3 separate regions of the Homo sapiens genome follow, and all the other regions are linked to region 3. Evidence: promoter capture Hi-C in 16 types of primary human blood cells and fetal thymus (Javierre and others, 2016). All regions are on one chromosome and are shown on one strand. Each heading gives the region's core, a stretch centred on a gene start or on the middle of the fragment in contact. The rest is flanking DNA. Distances are from core to core; before and after follow the strand shown.

What was found. The method cuts DNA at HindIII sites, captures the fragments that hold promoters and counts their contacts. A CHiCAGO score of 5 or more calls a contact.
Region 1: a fragment that was not itself captured here is called in contact with the fragment with the promoter of ETV4 in region 3 in 1 of 17 cell types (endothelial precursors); the score reaches 5.5 in endothelial precursors.
Region 2: a fragment that was not itself captured here is called in contact with the fragment with the promoter of ETV4 in region 3 in 3 of 17 cell types (endothelial precursors, M2 macrophages and M1 macrophages); the score reaches 6.4 in endothelial precursors.

What each region holds. Positions count from the first base shown.
Region 1 is chr17:43,698,807-43,702,367 of GRCh38, forward strand. The region is part of intron 3 of LINC02594 (long intergenic non-protein coding RNA 2594); the gene reads left to right. Among named protein-coding and RNA genes, the nearest start is that of LINC02594, 36 kb to the left of the region's middle. RefSeq lists enhancers at 2,788-2,947, 3,065-3,561. The HindIII fragment of the contact is 1,046 bases long and covers 1,328-2,373 here.
Region 2 is chr17:43,750,498-43,754,182 of GRCh38, forward strand. It overlaps SOST (sclerostin), which reads right to left. Exons shown (of 2, transcript NM_025237.3): 2 at 3,241-3,685. Among named protein-coding and RNA genes, the nearest start is that of SOST, 6.5 kb to the right of the region's middle. The HindIII fragment of the contact is 864 bases long and covers 1,446-2,309 here.
Region 3 is chr17:43,544,359-43,548,189 of GRCh38, forward strand. It overlaps ETV4 (ETS variant transcription factor 4), which reads right to left and starts at 1,982. Exons shown (of 13, transcript NM_001079675.5): 1 at 1,827-1,982; 2 at 1,200-1,310; 3 at 916-1,009; 4 at 617-664. The coding sequence starts at 1,259. It also overlaps a transcript of DHX8 not described here. RefSeq lists enhancers at 571-1,348, 1,349-2,126, 2,248-2,407 and silencers at 1,178-1,237, 1,278-1,327, 1,778-1,897, 1,948-2,087, 2,108-2,157. The HindIII fragment of the contact is 22,925 bases long and covers 1-3,831 here.

The sequences.
Region 1 (3,561 bases), core at 601-3,100, 150 kb after region 3:
TTGGCACTGCCAGTACTCATCCCAAACCAGGGAGCTCAGCCAGCGCCCTTTCTGCATGTCCGCTCTTTCATCAGACAGCTAGGAACAAGTTATACGAGATGATGTCCAAGTCCAATAAATGTCTAAGTCCTTTCCACTGGATCTGGCCCCAGCCTCCTCTCTGAACCATCTCCTATCACTCCACCCTATCCCTGCTGGCTCCTTCTGCTCCAGCCATACAGGCTTGCTCCTGGGCTCAGCTTGTGCCTGCCTGGGGAGCCTCGCGCTTGCTGTTTCCTCCTTGAGAAATTCCTGCCCTGGATAACTCCTTCCCCCACTTCCTTCAGATCTCTGCTCCCTTATCAGGGGGCTTCCCCTGGCTGCCCTATCTATAACAGCCCTGACCACTCTTTTCCTCTTCTCCTGCTTTCTTTGTCTTCCTGTTCTTATCACTAAGACATCACACATGTCTTAGTTGGCTTGTTTATATTCTGTCTCCACCCATCTTAGTCAGCTACTGCTGAAATGATGCTGTGTAACAAACCACCCCGATACTCAGAGGCTCCAAACAAGTGCTGATCTTTCTCATTTGTGAGTCTGTGTGTCAGCCCGAGCAGGGCAGCTCCAGGCTATGGCTTGGGTTTGGGTGGACTCCATGTCTCTCTCCATTCTCCTTGGACCAGCAGCTCCCTGGGGCACATGCTTGTCTTGGAGAATGGCAGGAACTTAAAAGCCAAGCCAAACCTCACAGCACGGTTAAGGGTGATCATGACACACCGCTAACATTCTAGTGGCCAAAGAAGTCTCATGGCCAAGTGTAATAGCAGTGGATTGGGCAAGTTTACTCTCTTACACCTGTTGTGAAGGGGAGTGGGAGGGGATGGGGGGGTGACCGTTTTCACAACAACAGTGCAAACTATCCCATCTCCCAATAGAACATAAACACCTTAAGGTTGGAACTGGGTCTGTATCCCCAGCACTTAAAATAGTTTTTGGCATACAGTAAGGGTGCAATAGACATTTGTTAAATAAATATACAGACTAACCAATTAGCATAATACAGATGACAAAGGTGTCTCTCTTCTGCCAGCTTCTGTGCCTGAAATGTTGATGATCTCCTCCCTATCTTCCTAACATCTCTCCTGTCCCCACCTGTCCATGCCCAGGGTTTGGCTGCTGTGACAGAAGTGTGAGAGCCTCCTGTCTCCCTTGGGATCCCAGTAAGAGCTTCCATGCCTCTCTCCCTGCTCACCTGGGCTCCCATCCCTGGGGACCTTCTGGAAACAGCTTCCAGGGCTCCCAGAGCTTACTTAGCCAGATTCTACATCTGGCTCCAGCTGTTATCCTAAGCTTGGCCTTGTTTTCTGATCTGACCACAGCTTCATCACTCCTACCTGACTGTGGGATTCTAGCCCCCAGTGGGGTGGGGGACCAAGGGTGACAATTACCTGGGACCTTGACTATTGAAAGGCTAATCAGGTTTGATTGGGAAAAAAGAGTTGCTAAAAAGGATTGTATTGGATAATTGGTGAGATTTGAACATGGATTTTATATTAGTATTGTGTTATTACATTTTCTGATATTAGTCATTCTTTTTTTTTTTTTTTTTTGACGGAGTTTGCTCTGTCACCAGGCTGGAGTGCAATAGTGTGATCTCGGCTCACTGCAACCTCTGCCACCCGGGTTCAAGCGATTCCCCTGCTTCGGCCTCCTGAGTAGCTGGGACTACAGGCGGGTGCCACCACACCCAGCTTGTTTTTGTACTTTTAGTAGAGACAGGGTTTCAACATGTTGGCCAGGATGGTCTCGATCTCTTGACCTCGTGATCTGCCCGCCTCAGCCTCCCAAAGTGCTGGGATTACAGGCATGAGTCACCGCTCCCGGCCGTTAGTCATTCTTATAGGTATGTAAGAAAATGTCCTTGAGGTATTTAGCAGGGAAGTTCATGATCTCTGCAGCTTACTCACAAATGGTTAAACAGAATGAGACTAAGAACAGACTAGTAAGAAAAGACTGAAGAATATAATTATTAGGCCAGGTGCAGTGACTCACACCTGTAAATCCCAACATTTTGGGAAGCTGAGATAGGAGGATCACTTGAGGCCAGGAGTTTGAGACCAGCCTGGGCAACATAGTGAGACCCCATCTCTACAAAAAAAAAAAAAAGTAAAAATTACGTGGGCACGGTGGTATACGCCTGTACTTCCAGCTTCTTGGGAGGCTGAAGTGGGATGATCAGAGGACCTCAGGAGTTTGAGGCTGCAGTGAGCTATGATTGCAGCACTGCACTCCAGCCAGGGAGACAGACTGAGGCCCGGTCTCTAAAAAAAAAGGAATCTATGTGAGTCTATATATTCGTGCAACTTTTCTATAGGATTGAAACTCTTTAAAATAAGCTTAATAATAAAAACAAAAGCTGGTGGGTGAGACCTTTCATGTACTCTCCAGGAGAGTTAAGCCCCCCAACATTCCTGTCCCCTTGTTTACTCTCAAGCACCCCCTCCCCCACCCAAGGACCAGGTCTTTGTTTACTGAGCATCTCAGCGATGAGCTCTCACCCCCTGATTTCATCAATTATAAATGTGCTCGCTACTCACCACACGGCAATTTGTGACGGACTGTGGTTTGTGGTGAGAGTAGCACCATCCAAGTTCACCGCAGCCGCGAGTAGAGATGAGGGTTGGGGCCAGACACAGGGCTGTGGGGGCGGCAAGGGCACGCAGGCAGCCCTGCCACCTTCCTGTTTGTCAGCCAAGTGAGGCTTCCGAGGGCAGCGGGCGAGCGGGTCACTACTCAGGGCCAGCTACTGCGGCCAGGCCAGGCTAGTCAGGTCTGTGCAGCCAGAACTAGAGGCTCCGCCAGGATGTGAGGTCTCCCAGCTCCTGGGAACTGAAGCAAACACTCTGACTACCCCTTCTTGAAGTGCCTTACGGTGTATACATTTGTTTAATCTGCACAACAAACCTAGGAGCAGTTATTGTTACTGTCCTCATTTTGCAGATGAGGAAACTGAGGCAAAGAGAAATTAAGTAACTCCTTCAAAGTCTGGTAAGTGACAGAACCAGATTTTACCCTCTTACTCATTGTCCATATTGCCGAGTAACTTACATTAATAGATACTATGCATGTTTATTTTATTTTTTATTTTTTTTTAGAGATGGGGTCTCATTCTTTTTTTTTTTTTTTTTTGAGACGGAGTCTCGCTCTGTCGCCCAGGCTGGAGTCCAGTGGGGCGTGATCTTGGCTCACTGCAAGCTCCGCCTCCCTGGTTCACTCCATTCTCCTGCCTCAGCCTCCCGAGTAGCTGGGACTACAGGCACCTGCCACCACGCCCGGCTAATTTTTTGTATATTTAGTAGAGTCGGGGTTTCACCGCGTTAGCCAGTATGGTCTCGATCTCCCGAACTCGTGATCCGCCCACCTCGGCCTCCCAAAGTGCTGGGATTACAGGCGTGAGCCACCGCGCCCGGTCCTCATTCTTTCACTCAGACTGGAGTGCCGTCGTGCAATCTCAGCTCACTGCAGCCTCAACTCGGGGCTCAAGCAATCCTGCCACCTCAGCCTCCCGAGTAGCTGGGACCA
Region 2 (3,685 bases), core at 628-3,127, 210 kb after region 3:
TCTTGGCTCACTGCAACCTCTGCCTCCTGGGTTCAAGCCATTCTCCTGTCTCAGCCTCCCGAGTACCTGGGATTACAGGTGCATGCCACCATGCCTTGCTAATTTTTGTATTTTTAGTAAAGATGGGGTTTTGCCATGCTGGCCAGGCCAGTCTCTAACTCGTGACCTCAGGTGATCCACCCGCCTTGACGTCCCAAAGTACTGGGATTACAGGTGTGAGCCACCACGCCCAGCAAGTTGCAGCTCTTAATAGCATGGGCACCATATAATTTACTGCCCAGATTGGGTCATTTTTTAGAGTAGAAGTGGGAGCTGTTAATAATTACGCTTGGCCTACAGGTGTAAACGAGACCACCCTGGGCAAACCAGGCACATGGTCGCATTGACTAAGAGGAATATTCCCCTGCCTCCTGCATCTCCAGCCACAAAAGGAGCCTCAGCTGTTGGTCAAAGCTGCCCAATAGCTGAGCCCTTGCCTGCCCTTGGACAAGGGAGAAGACAGAGGGCAGGTTCCAAGAATGGGGTGGGGATGTGGCAGGAAGGACGGTGCAGGCCCCAGAGCTATAATCAATGATCTGGGAGCCGGGTTGTGGAGCACAGGGCTGTGTCAAGGAGCAGGTGGGAGGTGGGTGGGTGTGGGACATGGCACCAGCTTTTGGTGTCTGTGACTCTGAACTTGGCTTACTCGCAGGTGGCTTCTGCAGGCTCTCCACCCTCCCAGCTGCGTAAGTCCTGCCTGATTCAAGGAAAACAGGGAATTTTGGGGTCCTGTGGCTCCTCCAACGTTCTTTTCCTTTACCTCCTTGTGTAAATGTGGCCTGATTTGTACTTGGAGCATAAGTAGACCCCTACAGAGCGTGTGTGTGTGTCTGTGTGTGTGTGTGAGAGAGAGAGAGAGAGAGTGAGAGAGAGAGAGACAGAGAGAGAGAAAGGGACCTATTTCCTTCTATCCCTCTGTCTGTCTTACTCTCAGACTATTAATACAAGCCCTGAGTCTGGCTGTACCCCCAGAACATGTGCCCCGCCCCCTACAACAAAATGCTGCCCCTCCCAGCTAGGTCTGTTGTTTGTTCCTTTTCTGATTGGCGCCAGGCTTATAGACCCCATGTAGGTAGAATATAACTTTCCATAAATAACCTCTAACCCGACCTACAATTTAGCCTTCAGGTTTTTTTCCCCCTCGTGGTAATGGGATTGCAGCCTGGGCTGATCCATCCTGTATCTTCAGGTCCCAGAAAGCAGACCCTAGGTTTGGACATTGCTTGGAATTCCTGGTACCCCCATGTTGCCTTGCACATGGCAAGGACTCGGTACATGTTGAGGAATGGTGGATTCTCTTCTACCCATGAGCAGCCATGCACTTGCAGTCTTTGCTTGGGCTATGCCTTCTGCCTAGAAGCCCCCTTCTCCACCTGGAAAATCTCTAAGCAGCACCCACTTTGTGAAGCTTTCCCTAACCACTATCCCTCATCCCCTCCACAGAGCAAATTACTCCTATCTTGGATTCCCATAACACTTGGTACAAAACAGTGTGACCTGGTTATTGCCCATGTGCCCACCAGGTTCTAAGCAGCTCAAGTGAGGGGTAGGGCAAGGAACTGAGCCCAAGTATGGCTGTGGGCAAAACATTTAACCCCTTGGTGCTTCAGTCTCCTCAGATTCAAACACCAACCTGGGGCTGGGTGTGGTGGCTCACGCCTGTAATCCCAGCACTTTGGGAGGCCGAGGCAGGCAGATCACTTGAGGTCAAGAGTTCGAGACTAGCCTGGCCAACATGGTGAAACCCCGTCTCTATCAAAAATACAAAAATTAGCCAGGCGTGGTGGCACGCACCTGTAATCCCAGCTACTCTGGAGGCTGAGGCAGGAGAATCACTTGAATCCGGGAAGGCAGAAGTTGCAGTAAGCCGAGATCGTGACACTGCACTCCAGCCTGGGCAATAGAGCGAGACTCTGTCTCAAAACAAACAAACAAACAACACAAACCTGACCCAGAGCCCGTGTCCCCACCCACTGGACCGCACTGCCTCTCAGGGATGGAAGATGTCTCTGTTTCCTACCTGCTCTCATATTCTGGGCCCTGAGACACTCATGATGCATGGATTTTCTGCAGGGGCTCACTGAGGCCTCCTCGGGGGCTGGAGCCCCAGGAAGGGACCGGCCACTGATACCCACTCACACCTATCAAAGACTTGATGATGATGATTAATTCAAGTGGGTTATTGGTAGTTAAACTGACAAGTCATCAGGAGGGACCTCAGCTTTCTTTGTGGGGGTGGGTTCCCCCAAGGTAGGCTGGACTTAATTTAAAGCTTTCCAGTTGACCATCCCACCTTAGGGCAACTGAAGAGTAACTTTAGGGTTACTCTTCATCTGAAGATGCTAACTCAGCTAGCATCCAGCACTATTAAGACACCTTGGGGAGGCGAGACTTTGAGAGAAGTGCAGGAGGCTGGCCCACTTTTGAAGATCCTACATTTCTACCCAGGAGGCATCAAATCCACACTTCGAAGAAGATGAAGTTTCCTGTGAGCTGGTCCTGAATTGTACTTGGCTTTGTGTTGTCTATGCCAGTACTAAGCAGGACTTGGCCAGGCTGGTCCTCCATGAATGACTGTCAAATGGAAAACAGAATTAGGAACCAAAGTAGTGGTGTAGACAAAAGGGGCTGGAACCTCAGAGGAGAGAGGGATCATGGGAGATTGGAACATCTCTGGAAGGTTAGGGGAAGAGATGACAAGTAATGTGAATCCTAAAGAAAGAGGATTAGTTATTGGGGGTGCTAAGTGTGGATGGCAAACTAAGGAAGCAGGGATCTGCATGACCATTTGGAGTCAGTAGGAAGCTTGGTGGAGTGGGAGGTGGGAGTCAAGCAGAGAAGGCCTCCCATGTCAGATAGGGAAACTGCACTTGATCCTGGGCAAGGGGGAGCTATGGAAGGCTTTTGAGCAGGGGAGTGATACAATGAGAACAGCATTTTGGAAGCCAGCATGGAGGGGAGGCTGCTAAAAGGATACAAGGCTGAGGTTATTACCATGCCCTGGGTGAAGAAATGCGGTCTGGGTTTGGAAAGGAAGGGATAAACATGACTTTTCAAAGGAAGACATAATTGCCACAAGGGCCACCAGAGAGCAGTCAAAGGTGTGTCCAAGGTTGGAGCTCTAGTGACCAAGAGAAGGGTGTCAACTTTGACAGAAATGACGTCATGTGTGGTTGACAAAATGAGACCACATCCTTTCGGTCATGATTCATTGTCTTTATTAACAATGTCTCTGGACTCTGGAAGAACAGACTGTTAATTCATAAAGCAATATTAACATTGTCATTCTCTACAAGAAAAACTTTTGCATAAATAACTTAAGTGAGAAAATAAATATGTAACTTAACTCTTTAAAAACCACTACTTTCATTCTTGTGGACAAGTCCCACGTGGAAGAATTGCCAAAAAAACGACCAGTCCTGCAGGCTTTCATATGTCATGTGCTTCTGTTTAAAACTTTTTTTTTTTAACAATTAAAAACTACACAGAAAGTAAGAGGTTGTCTGGAAATGATTTTCAAAAAGATTTTTGGGTGGCAGTATTATGCTCTGCAGTTTCTCAGCATATGTACAGCACTTGTAGTTTTTCCCCCAATAATATTCTTTTAGTGTAAGATATGCCATCACATGTAAGAGCAGTAAGAAGC
Region 3 (3,831 bases), core at 732-3,231:
AAGAGGGAGGAACACTTGCTATTAGAATTACAATCAAGGCTATTTGGGGAGGGAGCCCTGGGCTCTCTGTGCCAAAGGACTGCCGAAAAGAATTATTTAAACTTTTGTTGTTCTTTTGGCTTGGACAGTAAATTGTTTGGTGCTGGGGGTTGGGAAGAAGAGAAACCCAGGGGATAAGAATCAATGCTTGGGCAACTCTGGAGGATGAGTGACAAATTAATTTCTCCCCCCACCCCCCACCAACAACACCCCAACATGCACCTTGGCCTGGCGGCTTCTGCAAAACAAACTTTACAAATGAAAATTTCAACCAGGAAAATGGGCCTGGGGCCAAGTTCCATTCAAATAAGCAAATACCCCACACAATGGTCTGATTCATCCTCAAGCCTAGTTACACAAGCCTGGCTCAGGGTAGAGAAAATAAATATCAATATAAGTGTCCACGCTGGGTGCTGGGGTGAGTAGAGTGGCAAGGGACCTGGGGAGAGGGCCTTGGAGAACTCCTTGAGGCAGGGAAGGGAGAGGAGAAGTGTAGGGCTTAGGGTGGAATACCAGGGGCTACGGAGTGTCCCCCTGTCCAGCCTCCCAAAATAGAAAAGGTCACAAAACTACTCACCTTCAGCGAGCCACGTCTCCTGGAAGTGACTTAGATCCTGGAAGAGATCTGAGGGGTAAATAGTGGAATTGGAGGTGAGGTGGAGGGGACGGTAAGAGAGAAGGGGCCCTAGCAAGACCCGGTGACTCCCCTGCCTTGGGAGTAGGGACCGAGAAGAATGACCAAAATCCCTTGGAGGGCGAGTTTTTTGGGGAAACAGGCGGGGGTTCCAGAATCGGCCGTGTGTGTGTGTGTGTGTGTGTGTGTGTGTGTGTGTGTGTGGCGGAGGAGGGTCGCGGTTTGTCTCTCTTGCTCTTTACCTTCAGAGTCGAGGGGCGGCAGGGAGCCCGGGTCCATGAGCTTCCCCAGCGGGCCGATCAGCGCTTCGCGCAAGCTCCCATTTCCGGGCGATTTCTGCGAGAAGCGGGGAGAATGCCCGCGAGTCACCCTGAGGCGCTTAGTCTGGGGGACGAGGTTGGGGTCCTCGGGTGACTCAGGGGCGGGGCAGCCCAGGACTCCGCTGGGACTGCGGGGAGGGGGGCTGTGGTGAGAGTAGGGGCTGGGTGCGGGGCGGGGCGGGCGTGGAGGCCGGCGCGGCGCTCACGCTGCTGAAGGTGTAGGGCACTTGCTGGTCCAAGTATCCGGCTTTCATCCTCCGCTCCATCCGGCCGCTCCCTCCGGCCGCACGGCCGGGGCCCCAAGCGGGGGCCGAGACCTGGTGGGGGAGGGGGCTGCGTTCGCACACCGTCCAGGGAGGGCTGCGATGGGGGCGGGGAGGGGGCAGTCCCAAGGCTCTGGGTCCGACGGCGAAACTTCTCCGACTCACTGGGGCGATGGCGAGGTTTCCGCCTGCCAGGCCGAGCGCCACCACCACTCCCCTCCCGCCAAAGGCCAAAGGAGGTCCCACCTGCTCCCAGGAGCCGGGCTCGCCGTTTCTGCTTTCTGCAGCCCTGCTTTACCCGGGCTCGGTTACATAAGAACGTGTGTGTGTGTGTGTGTGTGTGTGTGTGTGTGTGTGTGTGTGTGTACGCGCGCGCGCGCGGAGGAGCAGGCGAAGCGCACACCATCGCATGCCCACAACTCCCGCGCCCCCTCCAACCCTGAATCCCAGCACCTCCCACCCCCGCCCTGGAATCTGCGGAGGCGGGTGGTGAGAGTGAGTGTGGTGTGCATTGGAGGCGAGGCGGGGAATCACAGACACTCTCCCTCCCTTTCCCTCCCGCAGCCTCACCTGAGGCCGGGGCGTCTGGGCTGGAGCCGCGGGGGGTCCCGAGCATGCCCTGGAGCCCGCACCGAGGGCCGCGGGGCTAGGCCGGAGTAAGGCGGCCCCGGCCCCGGGTCCCCAGCGCACCGACTTGTTTTTCGGGCGCAGCAGACAGTTGTGAGCCCGGGGGAGCAGCTGATTGGTGCATTTCCTTCGCTCGGCCTCAGCTCTCCACCCCCCGCCCCGCCACACCGCCCCCCGTTTCCCTTTGTTTCATTGACTTTTGTGAATGGAACCCCAGGGCTGGGCACGCCCGCCAATCCGGAGAGTCGTCCGGCCTGGCCGGGGGGCGGAGTTTCCCAGCCGCGGGGGCCAATCAGAATGTAGGGGTTGGCTCCCGGCTTCATTCAGTGCTCCGGCTCCCATTCATAAAAAAATAAAACTCGCGGCTGGAGTTCATTCATAAAGAACCGAGAGAAAAAGAGAGAAGCCGAGGACCCCGCGGCTTCTTCACCGTCTCGCCACGGTCTTGGGTCTGATGCGCCGCGTGCTCCTCCGGCTGGCGTCTGCACACGTCTCTGCATCTGCGTGTACGTGGGAGTATGAACATGTCTGTGTGCGCCCAGGAGGGAGGCGACCGGGCTTGTGTGCCCAGAGGAACAATAATAACTAGCATTTATGAAGCGCTCCGCTTCCACGTGCTCATTTCGTTCCCATAACCCGGCGAAATGGATCGTTTGTATCTTACAGATATTAAAAATGAAACTCAGAGAGGGATGGTAACTCTCCTGAGGTCACTCAGCTAGTCAGCACCTCTGGGGTTTACAGCCTCAAATCCCTCACACTCTCCTGTACACCCCTCTGAAGCCATGATTAAATGAGTTAAGCTATGTGACAACTGATACACAGTAGGTGATCAATAAATGTAAACTGGCACAGAATCCAGGCTTTTCCTCAAGGGTCTGTTCTCTGCAGAGCTGTTTTGTGACCCACTTTCTACTGATTGCAGCAGAAACCAGAAGCCCCAGGGTAGATGATTTCCGAAAGTGTAGCTCCCTCTCAGCCATCTTCCCTCTTATCTGAGAGCCAGCAAAAGGAGCAAAAGCCCCAAAGGTTCTGATGATCTGGAGGCAGGATGGGTTTCAGTTTTAGCTAAGAAGCTGGTCATAGTCTCTGTCATCTCATCCATTCACCACTTCTTTCAATAAACATTTATCGTGTCAGATACAGTGCTGGGTTCCAGGCAAGCAGCTATGTCCAAGACAGACATCTGAGGGGACCTGGGGTGCTTGGGCTGTGGCCATGGGGGCACAAAGGACATGAATCCTCAAAGGCCTTTTTGCTGAGACAATTCTCTATGTCTCCAGCCTATGCACTCCTTTGAGGACAGCCTGATTTTTTATCCTGCCTGTTTGTGATAAACACAAAAGAATGTTCAAATGCCAGGCCAGCAGGAGTGGCTTCCCAAATTCATCTAACCTAACACCCGCCACTTTACAGATGAGGCAGTGGAGTTTCAGAGAAGGAAATGACACATGTAAGCTCTTTGGGCCTGTCTGGCCAGAACTAAGGCTAAAACATACAATTGCTGTTTAGTGTTCATAAGGGCTCATTCCATGAGATCTGCTTGTGCAAATGGAAGTAAACTTCCCTTTCTATAGGTGCTGTAATATTCTATAAGGCTCATGTCTATTGTCCCTCTCCTCCAGGAAGCCTTCCATGATAGCCTGAATCAGTTCCTTTAGCCATATACAACATTCTTGACTATATCTCTGGTGTGGATGTTTTTCATCCTGCCTCATGGTATAGACATCCTTATCTATGGAGAGCTCTCCAGAGCTCATTTGCCTCTGAAAGTCCTCCTCAGCCTGTTAGCATGCTTATGAGGGTGGCATGAAATGCTTGTGTAGTGAATAGGTACAATAAAGACCAAATTAATTGAGCTTAGCAGGAACCCTGCCCAAGGAAGGAGAAACAAGCCCAAGCAAATCCCAGCTTTGGGCTGGATGGAACCAGTTTAGAGACAAGTGTG